Linked DNA regions of Homo sapiens: all the other regions are linked to region 1. Evidence: promoter capture Hi-C in 16 types of primary human blood cells and fetal thymus (Javierre and others, 2016). All regions are on one chromosome and are shown on one strand. The core of a region is centred on a gene start or on the middle of the fragment in contact, and the rest is flanking DNA. Distances in the headings are between cores, read along the strand shown.

The links. Contacts are between HindIII fragments. The CHiCAGO score rates a contact against its expected background, and 5 or more counts as called.
Region 2: a contact is called between a fragment that was not itself captured here and the fragment with the promoter of CENPF in region 1, in 1 of 17 cell types (monocytes). The highest score is 6.7, in monocytes.
Region 3: the fragment with the promoter of GPATCH2 here is called in contact with the fragment with the promoter of CENPF in region 1 in 10 of 17 cell types (naive CD8 T cells, total CD8 T cells, total CD4 T cells and 7 more); the score reaches 16.3 in naive CD8 T cells.
Region 4: the fragment with the promoter of LYPLAL1 here is called in contact with the fragment with the promoter of CENPF in region 1 in 6 of 17 cell types (total CD8 T cells, non-activated CD4 T cells, fetal thymus and 3 more); the score reaches 18.1 in total CD8 T cells.
Region 5: the fragment with the promoter of RRP15 here is called in contact with the fragment with the promoter of CENPF in region 1 in 2 of 17 cell types (total CD8 T cells and total CD4 T cells); the score reaches 7.0 in total CD8 T cells.

Annotation. Positions count from the first base shown.
Region 1 is chr1:214,601,937-214,604,636 of GRCh38, reverse strand. It overlaps CENPF (centromere protein F), which reads right to left and starts at 1,442. Exons shown (of 20, transcript NM_016343.4): 1 at 1,316-1,442. RefSeq lists a silencer at 1,339-1,548. The HindIII fragment of the contact is 1,274 bases long and covers 906-2,179 here.
Region 2 is chr1:211,251,577-211,254,276 of GRCh38, reverse strand. No RefSeq gene overlaps it. Among named protein-coding and RNA genes, the nearest start is that of RCOR3, 6.4 kb to the left of the region's middle. The HindIII fragment of the contact is 9,951 bases long and covers 1-2,700 here.
Region 3 is chr1:217,629,641-217,632,340 of GRCh38, reverse strand. It overlaps GPATCH2 (G-patch domain containing 2), which reads left to right and starts at 1,251. Exons shown (of 10, transcript NM_018040.5): 1 at 1,251-1,425. The coding sequence starts at 1,370. SPATA17 (spermatogenesis associated 17) reads right to left here and starts at 997. Exons shown (of 11, transcript NM_138796.4): 1 at 895-997. The coding sequence starts at 962. RefSeq lists enhancers at 973-1,212, 1,243-1,312. The HindIII fragment of the contact is 9,292 bases long and covers 1-1,674 here.
Region 4 is chr1:219,172,508-219,175,207 of GRCh38, reverse strand. It overlaps LYPLAL1 (lysophospholipase like 1), which reads right to left and starts at 1,330. Exons shown (of 5, transcript NM_138794.5): 1 at 1,227-1,330. The coding sequence starts at 1,317. It overlaps LYPLAL1-DT (LYPLAL1 divergent transcript), which reads left to right and starts at 1,420. Exons shown (of 5, transcript NR_038845.1): 1 at 1,420-1,738. RefSeq lists enhancers at 1,040-1,369, 1,450-1,499. The HindIII fragment of the contact is 2,433 bases long and covers 233-2,665 here.
Region 5 is chr1:218,284,029-218,286,728 of GRCh38, reverse strand. It overlaps RRP15 (ribosomal RNA processing 15 homolog), which reads right to left and starts at 1,436. Exons shown (of 5, transcript NM_016052.4): 1 at 1,274-1,436. The coding sequence starts at 1,412. RefSeq lists enhancers at 1,179-1,458, 1,989-2,058. The HindIII fragment of the contact is 12,027 bases long and covers 1-2,700 here.

The DNA.
Region 1 (2,700 bases), core at 193-2,692:
TCATTACATCAAGATGCTATAGCCAACAGAATATAAAAAGGAGCAATTTAGAAAGATGATTAGAAAATGAGGGGAATAAACATAAAGAAGACTGGCAAGCTGAATGCTTTTCCATTCCAAAGTCTAAGATAGAGAACAATATAGATGTAGACCAAGCTAACTGTGATTAGAGCAGATTTTGGCCCATTAAGGGATCAGCTATCAGCCACCTGTATTGGGCCATTGGGGCAAAAGAACAAAAAAATAAACCCAGAAGTTTACTTTTGAGGAACAGGGAATCGAGGTGGGGAGTGAAGAAAAGCCCTGGATGAAGGTTCCTGCATGGAGGACTTGCAGGACTATTGTCCTTTCCAGAAAATGCTGTATCTTTATCTCTTAAATACGTGGAGGGCACTCTTCATGCCCGAACTACCCAGTCCCTTAGTCCCCAAGGAAGCTCTTGTGTGACCTCCTCCTGCCCCACCTCCACCACTGCTTTCCCGTTGTCAGAATTCCCCACCTCCTCCAAAAAGCCAGAGTCCCCGTGCACTGTACCAAGGCTGGGTCTGAGAATGATAACCCTGCCTTCTCCTCTAGGTCAGGCTCAAGGACACGACCCATGCCTTTTATTTCTGGGTCCTCATTACACAGCCGAGCCGGGCACACAGGCGCGTTCAAATAAATGTGGAAGGGAGGACCGGGCGTAGTGGCTCATGCTTGTAATCCTGGCACTTACAGAGGCCAAGGCGGGAGGATCCCTTGAGCCCAGGGGTTCCAGACCAGCCTAGGCAATATAGGGAGGCCTATCTCTATTTAAAAAAAGAAAAAAAAAAATGTGGACGGGAGGAAGAAGAGAGGGGAAAGAGAAATGCTCGCGTAACTAACCATAGGCACCCCACGTCGCCAACCAGATCAAAACTCAAGCTTACATCTACTCAATAAAACAAAGGACCAGGGCCTGAATTTCAATAAGGTTGGTTACGGGACTGGGAAGGCGGCTTGGAAATACCTAGTCATCTCCAATTCTTTTACGGAGGAAGAAAATGATCCCCTAAAGTGTGAGTCCGTGACCGAGTAGGGTCTGGGACACTAATCCGAGACCAGTTTGAACCCGAGCAGAAGGGCGCAGACACCCCTACGAACCACATCCCGGGGCGGATTCTCCAGTTCGGTCGGGTGGGAGGGGGCGGTCCCCGGCACCTACAGGGCCGGGAGAGTGATCCCAGAGGCCTCCCCGCCCAGTACCCGCCGGCAAAAAGCCAGCGGCACCCCCACGCCGCCCGCCGCCTACCGCCCGCCGCCAGGGCCAGGATCCGGACCCAGTCAGGACGCTCACCTTGCTCTCGGGGACGGGAAAACGACCTCTCGGAGAGTACAGTTCTGGCGCGGCTTCGGCGGGCTGGAGCCCAGAGTCTAATTCAAACTGCCCGCAGCCGCCACCGGTGCCCAATTCGCCCGCTTCTGGTCTCAACCAAACTTACCTCCACGCCTATTGGTCACTCTAAGTAGCTGCGGACCAATCCGCGCCTGCGCACTCAGACTGCCGCGTCTGATTGGCCCTTTCGGATGGATTTTAAAAACAAGCCCTCTACTGGAGGTGCCTGCGCCGGAGTTTACTGTTCTTTTTTGTTGTTGCGGGGAGACGGAGACCACGTGCTTTTGCTAATGCTAGACGCGGTTTTGGACCGCTATTTCCGCAAAAGTCAGGGAATGCGCCCGCTGATTAGGAAGGCGTGGTCTATCGCCTACAGCCAGGGGAACTGTGCTGCCTGGTGAAACCTCTTTTAAACTGCACGTACCAATCTACTTAATTAAACGTAAATTTAGGACATAGATACTAGGTGCTGTGTTTGTCATGCATTCTTTATCCGGTGTCGTTCTTAACAATTCTTTGAGGAAAGTATTATCCTCATTTTATTAAAAAGTTAACAGGCTCATAGAAGCTAAGTACAGTAATTTGAAATTGAATCTACGCAATGCAGGATGTCGCTCTTAAATGCTGTCCTTTATGGTTCATATTTCTAAGACGTGATTCTGAACACTTATTTTCCGGGATTAAGGCGTGGGGGGAGGACACTGCATCAGAATTTAAAATTCAGAAGAATCCTCAAAACGGGGTGTAATGCTTTTCGTGAAGCCCACTAGTTTTCTATGTATGTTATATACTCGTTTTATTTCCCTATTAAACTATAAATAAGCTTCTAAAGGCAGAAGCAAAACAATTAATTGTTAAAGTAATAGATCTCTAATGCTGTTGTCTGCCTCAATAGGTACCAAACTTTCCAGCCCCCTGACTTTACCTTTCATTAGACTGTTCCTGCAGTACCCAATTCAAGTGTCACTTTTTTTATAAAACCTCCCTAATCCCACCCACTCCTTAGAGATAATTATTTCCTAGACCTTTCCTGGAACTTGCAAACTTCATGTTTAGGATTTTCGCCGTGTCTTGTCTTGTATTTATGTCTACGTCTGACTCCCCCATCAGACTCAAAAATTCCTTTACAGTAAAATCTGTTTTAATTCATTTTTGCATCCCTAGTAACTTTGCACATAGTAATTTAAAATCCAGATCATCTTGGGAGATAAAACTGCTATTTGGGGAAAGGCCTTGTTCTTACTATCTTCTACCTTCGAATCCCCAAAGGGAGGGGAGAGAGCAGGTAGGGGAGGAAAACTTTTGTCAGACATTGCCATGATCAGTCTAGTGTCTGGTAGTTTTAG
Region 2 (2,700 bases), core at 106-2,605, 3.4 Mb after region 1:
ATTGCAAGCTGATTCCAAAATTTATATGGAAATTGGGAAGGTCAAGAACAACCAAGACAATCTAGAAAAAGAACAAAGTTGGAGGATTTATACCCCCAGATATTACTGCTAAAGCATCTATAAAAATTATTGTGGTACTGGCGTAAGGATAGAAAATAGAAAAATGGATCGAATAGAGTTCCCAAACAGATGCTTATGTGAACATTTTATTTATGTAAAGGTGACACTGTAGTAATGTGGAGAAAACTTGACATGTCAATAAGTAATGCTGGGGCAATGCATATCATGTGGAAAGAAAGTAACCTTGATGCCTACTCATACTGAAAAAAAAAATCAAAATACGTTGTGGACCTCAATGTAAAAGGTAAAACAATAACACTTTTATAATTTCAGGTAGTCAAACATTTCTTAAACAGGATAGAGAAAGCACTGTTTATGCCGGTCGTGGTTGCTCACACCAGTAATCCCAGCACTTTGGGAGGCCGAGGCGGGCGGGATCACGAGGTCAGGAGATTCAGACCATCCTGGCCAACATGGTGAAACCCTGTCTTTACTAAAAATACAAAAATTAGCTGGGTATGGTGGCACGCACCTGTAGTCCCAGCTCCTCAGGAGGCTGAGGCAGGAGAATCACTTAAACCCAGGAGGTGGAGGTTGCAGTGAGCTGAGACCATGCCACTGCACTCCAGCCTGGGTGACAGAGCAAGACTCCATCTCAAAAAAAAAGCACTATTTATAAAGGAAAATATGAGCATTCCAGATACAGAAAATAGTATGGGAAAGGCAAAGAATATTGAATTAAGATGTTATGTCAGACAACTAAAAACGGTTTTGTATTCCTAGAATATGAAGTGAACTCAGAGTTAGGCAAGTTCTGAATCACATTAAGTCTTTTATAGCATTCGAAAGGGTTAGGCAATTTACAGATAATGAAACAGGATCAGAGAGATCTAAGCAGGAGATTGGGTCCAATTGGTATTTTAGATGGAATAGAATTTGTACCCCCACCCTCAAAAAAAAGGACACTATTGAAGTAATCAAGAAATGATGAGGCTTAAATTACAGCAGTGGTAGCAAGGCTAGAGGCAGGGACAGATAAAAATATTTAGTAGCTAAAATTAGCAAAATCTGGGGACGAACTGAATATAGAAAGACAAAAGGAAGGGATGAATTTAATCTGATACAAGGATTTTGGCTTGGGTGTCTGGATAGATGATTGTGTCAACAACTGAGATGATGAATACTGAAGACTTGCCATTTTATGGGACAAGAAGGATGAGTCGCCGGGTGCAGTGGCTCACGCCTGTAATCCCAGCACTTTGGGAGGCCAAGGCAGACAGATCACCTGAGGTTGGGAGTTCGAGACCAGCCTGACCAACATGGAGAAACCCCATCTCTACTAAACAAAATTAGCTGGGCATGGTGGTGCATGCCTGTAATGCCAGCTACTTGGGATGCTGAGGCAGGAGAATCACTTGAACCCAGGAGGCAGAGGTTGCGGTGAGCCAAGATGGTGCCATTGCACTCTAGCCTGGGTAACAAGAGCTAAACTCTGTCTCAAAAAAAAAAAAAAAAAGAATGAATTTATTTCTGGATATATTGGGTACTCCATAGTGAGATATCCAATATGCAGTTGGATATAAAATTAATATCAGCACTGGAGAGAGAGGAGTTGCTAGTGATTGGTTGTAGCTAACCAAGGTTGTAAGACCTGTCTTAGTCCATTCAGGCTGCATAACAAAATACCTTAGACTGGGTCATTTACAAACAATAGAAACTTATTTCTCACAGTTCTGGAGGCTGGCAAGTCCAAGATCAGGGAATCAGCAGATTTGGTGTCTGGGGAGCATTCTCTGCTTCATAGATGTTGCCTTGTTGCTGTGTCCTCACAAGGCAGAAGAGGCAAGGCAGTTCCCTTCAACATCTTTTATAAGGGCACTAACCCCACTCATGCCTTAATAGTTTCCCAAAAGGCCCCACCTCTTAATACAATCACAGTGGGTACTAAGTTCCAACATATGAATTTTGGGGGAACACATACATTCAGACCATAGAAAGACCTAACTAAGTCACACAAGAAGAGCATACAAGATGAAAAGTATAATGAGCTGAGAATGAAAAGCAAGGGAACACCAATATTAAAGAGTGTAAAAGAAGAAAAAAAAAAATCCATGAAAGAGAGTGAAAAGGAATTGAGAAATAGGAAGAGAACTAGGAGACTGTGCTTTACTGAAACCAGGGGTATAGAGAGATGCAAAGAGAAACAGGGTCACCAGGCCAAGAGAGATAAGACTTAAATGCTTATGCAAGTAAGAGGTCATGAATGATTCTGGTAAAAGCAATTTTACTGGGATTAATGGGCTGAAAAGCCAAGCTGCAGTGGATTGAGAAGTGGAGGAAGGAAATAGGAACAAAAAATGTGAGCCTACTCCAGAAAAGTACTCATATGGATAAGGAAAGGAACACACACACACACACACACACACGCACGTGACAACACGTAGTGTCTTGAAGCAAAGTGACTATAGAGATACAGCCAACAAGATGTATATATCTAACATTTTATTTATTTATTTATTTATTTATTTATTTATTTATTGAGACGGAATCTTGCTCCGTTGCCCAGGCTGAGTGCAGTGGTTCGATCTTGGCTCACTGCAACCTCCACCTCCCAGGTTCAAGCAATTCTCCCATCTCAGC
Region 3 (2,700 bases), core at 2-2,501, 3.0 Mb before region 1:
CTGGGCAAGAAGTTTGGCTGTAGGGAGATGAAGAAGACTGCTAGTGGTTTTCTTACCCGTTATCTATTAATTAATATATTGGTACTAGTTACCGTGTCAGAATGGTTTAGACACTTTCATTTTATTTTATTTTATTTATATTTATTTATTTATTTATTGAGACAGGGTCTTAATTTGTCACCCAGGCTGGAGTGCAGTGGTACAATGTCGGGTCACTGCAACCTCTGCCTCCCAGGTTCAAGCGATTCTCCTGCCTCAGCCTCCGGACTAGCTGGGATGACAGGCATGTGCCACCATGCCCGGCTAGTTTTTGTATTTTTAATAGAGACGGGGTTTCACCATGTTGTCCTGGTTGGTCTAGAACTCCTGGCCTCAGGTGATTCGCCCCCCTCGGCCTCCCAAAGTGCTGGGATTACAGGCGTGAGCCACCACACCCGGCAGATACGTTCATTTTAAAAAGGCGAATGAGTCATAGAACAATTGAGTTTAGTGATGTTTGTAAAATAACGGAGGCTCAAATCCCTAGGTAGATGGGACACAATCTGAGTTCATTGGGCTAGTGAGTCAGGGTGACCCCCAGTCAGGGTATTGAACATAGGTTTCATCAAATTGCAGAGTGGTGATGTCGAAGAAAAAAAGCACTTTACAATTTTATCTATGCTGGGAGTTTCCTTAAATCATCTCACACTGAATATCTACGGCCCCTCTCTATTTAGAATTTCGTTGTATGGTAACAGAAACTCCCAATTATGTTTGCAGCCCATTAAGGGAAGAATTGGGTACTACTTAATGAATTAGGGTAATCGTTAAATCGTTAATTGGAAACTCCCGCTGAGGAACAACTGGTATAAAGTCACGCCCGCCCTTTACGCGATCCTTCTCTTCCTGACTTACCTGTTCCTAAAGTAGTACTGATTTCCTACAGTCGACGACCTAGCTTGCAGCCGGGCTAACGTGGCCATGGTCTCTTGGCCTTGGGTTTACAACTGGTGTTACTACCGGTCTCCATGGTAACTGGGCTAAACCATAGCTCACTCCCGGGGTTCGACTTTTTGTTCACTCCTCTTTTCTCTCATGCTGCTTTGACTTTAAGAGCACTAAAAAGAGAATTAAGAAATTTCTGTGTAGCACAAAAGTTTAATTTATTTGTCTCTGTCTCTACTGCGAGTAGGAAGAGGGGATTATAGGAAGGGGAAAGCAGTAAACGCGGAGAACTAATGGTTGCTCCGGGCATCCGGTTTCCGCCGCCTGTCGGCTTCCGGAAGCTCATCTCAAAATGCTGAACTGCTCTTTGGAAGTCGCCGGTGCTGTTGTAGTTGGAGTCTGTTCACGGGCCTGAGCTTCGAGGCCAGGCTCCCGGGTGTCGTTAATGTTCGGGGCCGCCGGGCGCCAACCGATCGGAGCTCCAGCAGCCGGGAACAGCTGGTGAGGCTGGCGGCCCTGGGGAGGGGGAGGTCAGGGAAGGGTGTGATTGCCCGAGGCCGCTCCGCTGGACCTGGAATGGAGGCGGGAGGGAGCTGTGATGGATGATCTGAAGACATCTAGGCCTTGCTCTCACTCATTCCTGGGATGCACGCAGTTTGAGGGAGCTCTTGGGTGTGTGCCAAAGATTTGTGAAAGAATACAGTAAATGTTTTCTGATTGCTTGTTTAACAATATTTTAGAAGTCAAGCTTCCTGTACTCCAGGAGCAATTCATCTCCTCATTGATTGTTGACAACACTAGGGACAGGAAGAATTTATCTTAATCCGGGCCTTATTCCCCACTCCTCTTTCAATATTTACCAGATTATACCAAGTCTTTTGGAAGATAAATTCCAGAAATCTAGAGTTCTGGAAGTTCAATCGTGGAAAACACATCACCCTCTCACCCCCTTTTTTAAAGAGAGAGGGTAACCTACCTGTTTCCACCCTCTTGAACATTCTATTCAAGTTAAAGTGAGATATGTATGGGGGCTTTCCAAGAACCTATAACTGTCAGGATTAAGTTTGGGGCTTGACTATGTCTATGGTATCATGTTAGAATAATATATTGCTTTGACTTTTCAAAGTATTTCCACAAATTAATACACTTTATCCTATGACAGCCTTGTGATAGCAGAATATCACAAGCACAGAAAATTCAAGTACCGTGTCCAAAGTTGCCCTGTACATTTTAATCCTAGAGCTAGAATCCTGATTTGGGGATTTCTAGTTGAACACTCTGTATTATCTGTCCTGTTTTTCTCCCAAGCCCTTTTCCTCCAAACATAACATAAGACAACCAGTGACACAAACAAGCAATTTCCCATTGAAAATCCTCAAACATAAAGTTCTGACCAACAGGTGAAAGAAATGTGGCTAAATGGTGCGTGTTCATTCCTAGATTCTGCAAAAATTAGAACATGAGGAATTCTAGTAGTCTGTGATCTCAGATAATTGCTTTTCCATCACCTATCACTGAAAAGTTAAAAGAATACCTTATCCAAAATATTTCTAGTTGGACCTGATCATCCTGTAGTTAATTTTATAGTGAATATAGATTTGATTATACTATTTGTAAATTATTACATTTTCCAGTGAGAAAAGTAGGGAGCATTTTTTAAATGAACCAGTTTTTAATGGTATAACTAGCATAGAATGAAATGCACAATTTTTACAGGCTTAATTTTATTAGTTTTGGCAATTGCATATACTTATGTAAACACCACACAAAACAAGA
Region 4 (2,700 bases), core at 81-2,580, 4.6 Mb before region 1:
GAGCTTTGGGTTCTAATCCCAAATCCGCCACTACTCACAGTAACAGCTAAGAGACCTTGGCCAAGCTGCTGAACCTGTCTGGCCTCATTTTCAAAATAAAGAGAATACCTCCCACAATTGCCCTTTTCCAGGTCTCTGCCCAGTACCTTTCCAATTCCCTTCCAATCACCGTCCCATTTAAGCCTACCCGTCTCGGCTCAAAGACCACTTTCTTCGAAAAGTCTGACAAGCTTTTCATCTTCCAAATGCCTTAATAATGCCTAACCACATTTTTTTCTCTTACAATTCACTTGGCAGGAAACCATGCACCGTCTTGTGATCTTCCATGCACTGCTGACTCAAACTAATTGGATTGTTTTTGTTTTTAACTTTAGGTAGGCCCCCTGAGGACACCGGCTGCATCTCATTTCTTTAAAAAACATTTCCTGAGAGCTTACCCTGGGCCAAGCACTGGGGGTGCAAAGGTTGACACAAGGGCCCTTACTCTCATAATCCAGTGGGAAGTTCACAATCCAGTGGGGAAGACAGACAAAAGTGATTACAGATGAGTGTTAAGTAACGATACAGCATTAAGCACACGTTACTAAGGGCAGGTAGTGGAAGATGCCTGTCCCTGGGGGTCCTGCCCCTGTAGTCTATCTTGGAAGTTTAATGACACAGGCGGGAAAGGGAAAGGAAGGAAAGAGAAGCAGCAAAAAGGAAAGTGAGAGAAAGCACTCCAGCCATGGCACAGTGGCTTACAGAAAAGAGATAATCTGTAAACAGTATCTAAGTTAACTGTGAATCTCAATTGTCTACATTAGTATGGGAGCCTGGAAAAAGCAATGGGCAATTACGACTGAAAAATCACTAGTAGCTGATAATGAAAAACACTAAATAATTTCCCTCTAGCAGAAGACTTACCTTACTAACTTGCTCTGTTTAAACTTGGGGCGAGGAATGGGGAGGTGTGTTGTGGGGATGGAGGGCTGGCTGAGCGGCGGGACACAAGGCCCCAAAGCGAGGGTGGTGGACCAGTGACCGCCCGATAGAAAGAGGAAGACTAACGGGGGAGGCTGGGGGCAGGTGGCGCTGCCCGTGCATCTACAGCCGGGGCTGGCGACGGGGGAGCCACCCACTGGGCCCTATTTGGGCCCGGCGACACCTCCACTTGGGCAATACTGGGGTAACCGAGGGGAGGATGTTTCCCGAGCTGTAGAAAACCAGGACGTAAAATTGAAATCCACCTGAGCCATGCAGGAAGATCAGAGAGGCGCTATGCCTCCCTGCCGGCGACACGATACAGCGCTGCAGAACCGACCCCGACGCAGCCGCCATCGCTGATGCCACTGCCAGTCATGCGGTTCCGCCCCTGCGTTGCCGCGCGGGGCCGCGCACGCAAATACGCAGGCACGCGCGGGAGCACGCCCGGGAGCGCGCATGCGCAGCGCTGCTGGCCCGCTCTCTGAGGAGCTTTCAATACTTTGGGGTCAAGTTTGAGGCAGTTGTAACTGTACTGAGTTTAGTTTTGCTAATAATGGTATTCTACGTGTGTCAGCCTCGTGTGGACTTCTGTAATGACTAATGGATATGTTTATATCCTGAGCATTTGCTGTAGGAATTTTAAATGCAATCCCAAAACTCAAGATTACCTTATTTGGAGAAATATTCGTGTTACTATGTTTAAAATTTAATAGAACCATATTTTACCTTTCACTTTGGGACTCGCACAGGATGTTTGCAGCTCTTGATATACAGGGTAAGCGAAGCATATAATAATAAGTTCTCTTCGTGTCTCTTATTTTTAATAAATAGTTTACAAAGCAAATCTAATTTAATGAGATTCTGCTTTATATACCCATTAGAATGGCTCTTATCAAAAAAACAGAAAATAAGTATTAGTAAAGATGTGTAGAAATTAGAAACCTTGTGCATAGCTGATCAGAATGTAAAATGATGTTGCGGCAATAGAAATAATTTGGTGGCTCCTCAACAAGTTAAACATTGACTTAGCATAGGTACTAGCAGTTCCACTTCTAGGTATATACCCAAAAGAGATGAAAGCAGGGACTCAAACAAATACTTGTACTTCAGTGTTCTGTAGCAGCATTATTCACAAGTACCAAAAAGTGGAAACAACTCAAATGTTCATCTACAGATGGAGAGATAAACCAAATGTGCTATGTACATATTGGAATGGAATATTATTCAGCCTGTAAAAAGAATGTGATTCGGATACATGCTACAACATGGATGAACCTTGAAAACATTATGCCGAGTGAAGCCAGACACAAAAGGACAAATAATTGTATGATTCCACTTACATGAGATATCTAGAATTGGCAAATGCATAGGGACAGAAAGTGAAATTAGAGGTTACCAGGGACTAAGGGAAGAGGGAGTTGGGAGGTTGTTGTTTAATGAGTACAAGAGTTTCTGCTTAGATAGTGAAACATTTTTAAAAATGGACAGTGATGATGGTTGTACAACAGTGTTAATAACTGCCAGTGAACTATACACCTAGTAAATTTTATGTGTATTTTACCATAATTTTAAAAATACTAAGAAATGGAATTATTTCCTGTATAAAGTCCAAAACATAGGTATCTTTTAATACTGAAGGCAGTGGCCCCAGCAGGTTGCTCTTGCCTCATGTAAAATTCAACAAAATAACCCAGTAAAAGCTTAAGTACCATTAAACACTGGCCTTCCATTCATTGT
Region 5 (2,700 bases), core at 187-2,686, 3.7 Mb before region 1:
CCTGGAAGTCCAGGTTAATTCATTCATTTACTTAAATATCTGTGAAGGACCCACAAGGCAATAGGAACTGGGGATACAGTAGGCTCTATTTTTATGGAACTTATATTCCAATTGGGAAAGCAGCAAATACATACATCAAATGGTTTGGGCAGGGTTGAGAAAAAATAAAGCAGGGCAATAAGTCAAAAAGTGAAGAAAAGAAGGCAGGAAGAAGAGTAGTGGTGGTACGTTACATAGGGTAGTCAGGGACAAGTCTCTCTGGTAAGGCACTGGATCAGAGGCTGGTGAGGGAGAGACATGCCAAGCATTTGAAAACTATTCTAGGCAGCGGAGCCAACAAATGAAGAAACCATGGTGTGGGAGCATGTTTAAGGTGTTAAACACAAGCATACCGGTATGGCATGATTACAGTTAGTGGTTTGTGAGGGGCATATTGGCCTATGACAGACAACCTGGCCCAAATCATACAGCCTAAGGATTTTGGATATTATATACTGAGATGAGAAGCCACTGGATCATCTCAAACAGACAGCGGGCATAATTAGAAATACGTTATAAAAGAATAGCTCTGTCTGTTTTTTGGGTATCAGCTGGTACAAAGGAGCAATAACTGGGCAGTAGGAAGTCAGGGATTACCTGCAATTCCTTGTAACCTAATAAGCTGGTGCCAAGAATGATGGTAAAGAGGAGCAACAGACACAGCATGGTTGAAAGCCTCAAAAACACATCCTTCCTTCCTTTTATTATCAAGCGTCTCTGAGAGACATAGTTATCAAACACTACCAGTTTTTAATCGACCTTAACCACCAAACTCTTCTTTCATTCACTATTATTTAGTCTCTAAAACACGCACACATCTACCGCACAAAAAGTCAAGTACACCCCCTTCTTCCTCTTACCTCTTTTAACCTTTTGCTTCTTACACCCTATGAGACCCATTCTTCTCCTGTTTTCAAGTACCCTCTTCCTTTCACCCTTTGCTACTGTAAGTTTCTCGGTAGCTGCAGGTGTTTCACCCATTTTATTATAATTAATAATGGTGACCCTGAAAATACCTAGTAAAAGAATGTGGAAACTCAAAATTACAGTTGACAGCGTTACTTCTCTGAACACGACTTCCCCAAGCCTCCTCACTAAGCCAAAGTCGCCCCTCTGAAGTGGTGCCAAGATAAAACCCAGGTGGCTAGCAGCAAATGAAGTCGCAAGCGCTGCTTGACACGAACTCAGCCCCGCCTTTCCTCCCAGACACCAAAGCTCAGCCCTACCACATTACCTTCACTATCAGAAGTGTCTGTGGCCTCGTCTTCCAGCACCGACGCTACGGCTCCAGTTACCATTTTCATCTTCTTCTTTGGGGTCTTTTTCAGGTTTTCTTCCTCACTCACACGTGAGTCCGGAGCGGCGGCTGCCATTTTTCTGCGCCGGAAGCGTCACCTGACAGTTGCGTCCGGTGGCAACCAGAGGAACTTCTGCATTTAGTGCCGGTAACACAAGGTTCCGGGGCGGGGTCGTCTAGCCCAGAGTTCCGGGGCCGGAGCCTCAGAATGTGACTTGGAGAGAGCTCTGAATGGCTCGGTGTGTTTACGCGAAGTCCGTTCCAGGACGAAAATCAGCGGCTGAATGGCCTCAGCCGACTCCTCCGCTAGCTCGCCTGTGCCCTGGTCCTCCGCCCCAGTGCGTCCCCAGCCCGTCCCCAGCCCAGCGCGGTCCACTTTGATTTCCTAGCCTCGGCGGCTTCCCTTGTCTGCTGCCTTAATGTTGGTTTAGTGTCCTCCTCAGGTGTCTCTTACGTGCCCACTGAACGCCGCAGCAGCTAGGACGCGGGACAGATCCACTGGGGGCCGATAATTAGAATACGATCGTATCATCCCCCCGCCCAAGATAACACGCGAGACCTTTCTTGCAAACCGAATAGACTCACCTTCTTTCCCTGGGGCGGGTGTTGAATCCAACCGCACCCTTCTCCCTCGGACCCGGCTGGGGCCTGGAGGGTTTCTGGCGCCCGACTGCGCAGTGCAGACCGAGGGTGCGAATACCTTGCTATCCGCGCGAGGATCCTGCCTCCCACCCGGGGCTAGCTTTTCTCTGAAGTTAGCCTCTGTCACCAGCTCCTAGTTCCATCGAAGCACCTACCACAGTCGGCCTTCATTTTCCCCCCTAAAATGTTGGCTTCTCGCAGGAGGGGAACGTATTTCATTTACCATGTCCCCTCAAGGTTAGCAACAGAAGTTGGCCTGAAGTGAATTTTCCAAAAATATTTTTGGAAGGGATGAATGAATCAATGAATGAGTGACAGAATATAACTATTGACAAAGTTAATGACTCAGATGGATAATGCAGCAAACCTTTACTGGCTAGACTTGTTCTAAAGGCTTTCCCCAAACTTAGCGTTTTCCCTTTCCCCTCTTAAGGAGGTTCATAGATTGTGATACCCATAAGTCAAAAACAAAAACAAGAATCCTCATTTTGACATATTCCAGTAGATGTTTATGTAGGAAATAAATATATATTCACATCCTAAAAACTCAATACAACATTTTTAAACTTGGTTTTTAATTTTTTTGTCTTTTAAGAGAGAGAGGGTCTAGCCGGGTGCGGTGGCTCACACCTGTAATCCCAGCACTTTGGGAGGCTGAGATAAGTGGATCGCTTGAGTCCAGGAGTTTGAGAACAGCCTGGCCAACATGGTGAAACCCCATC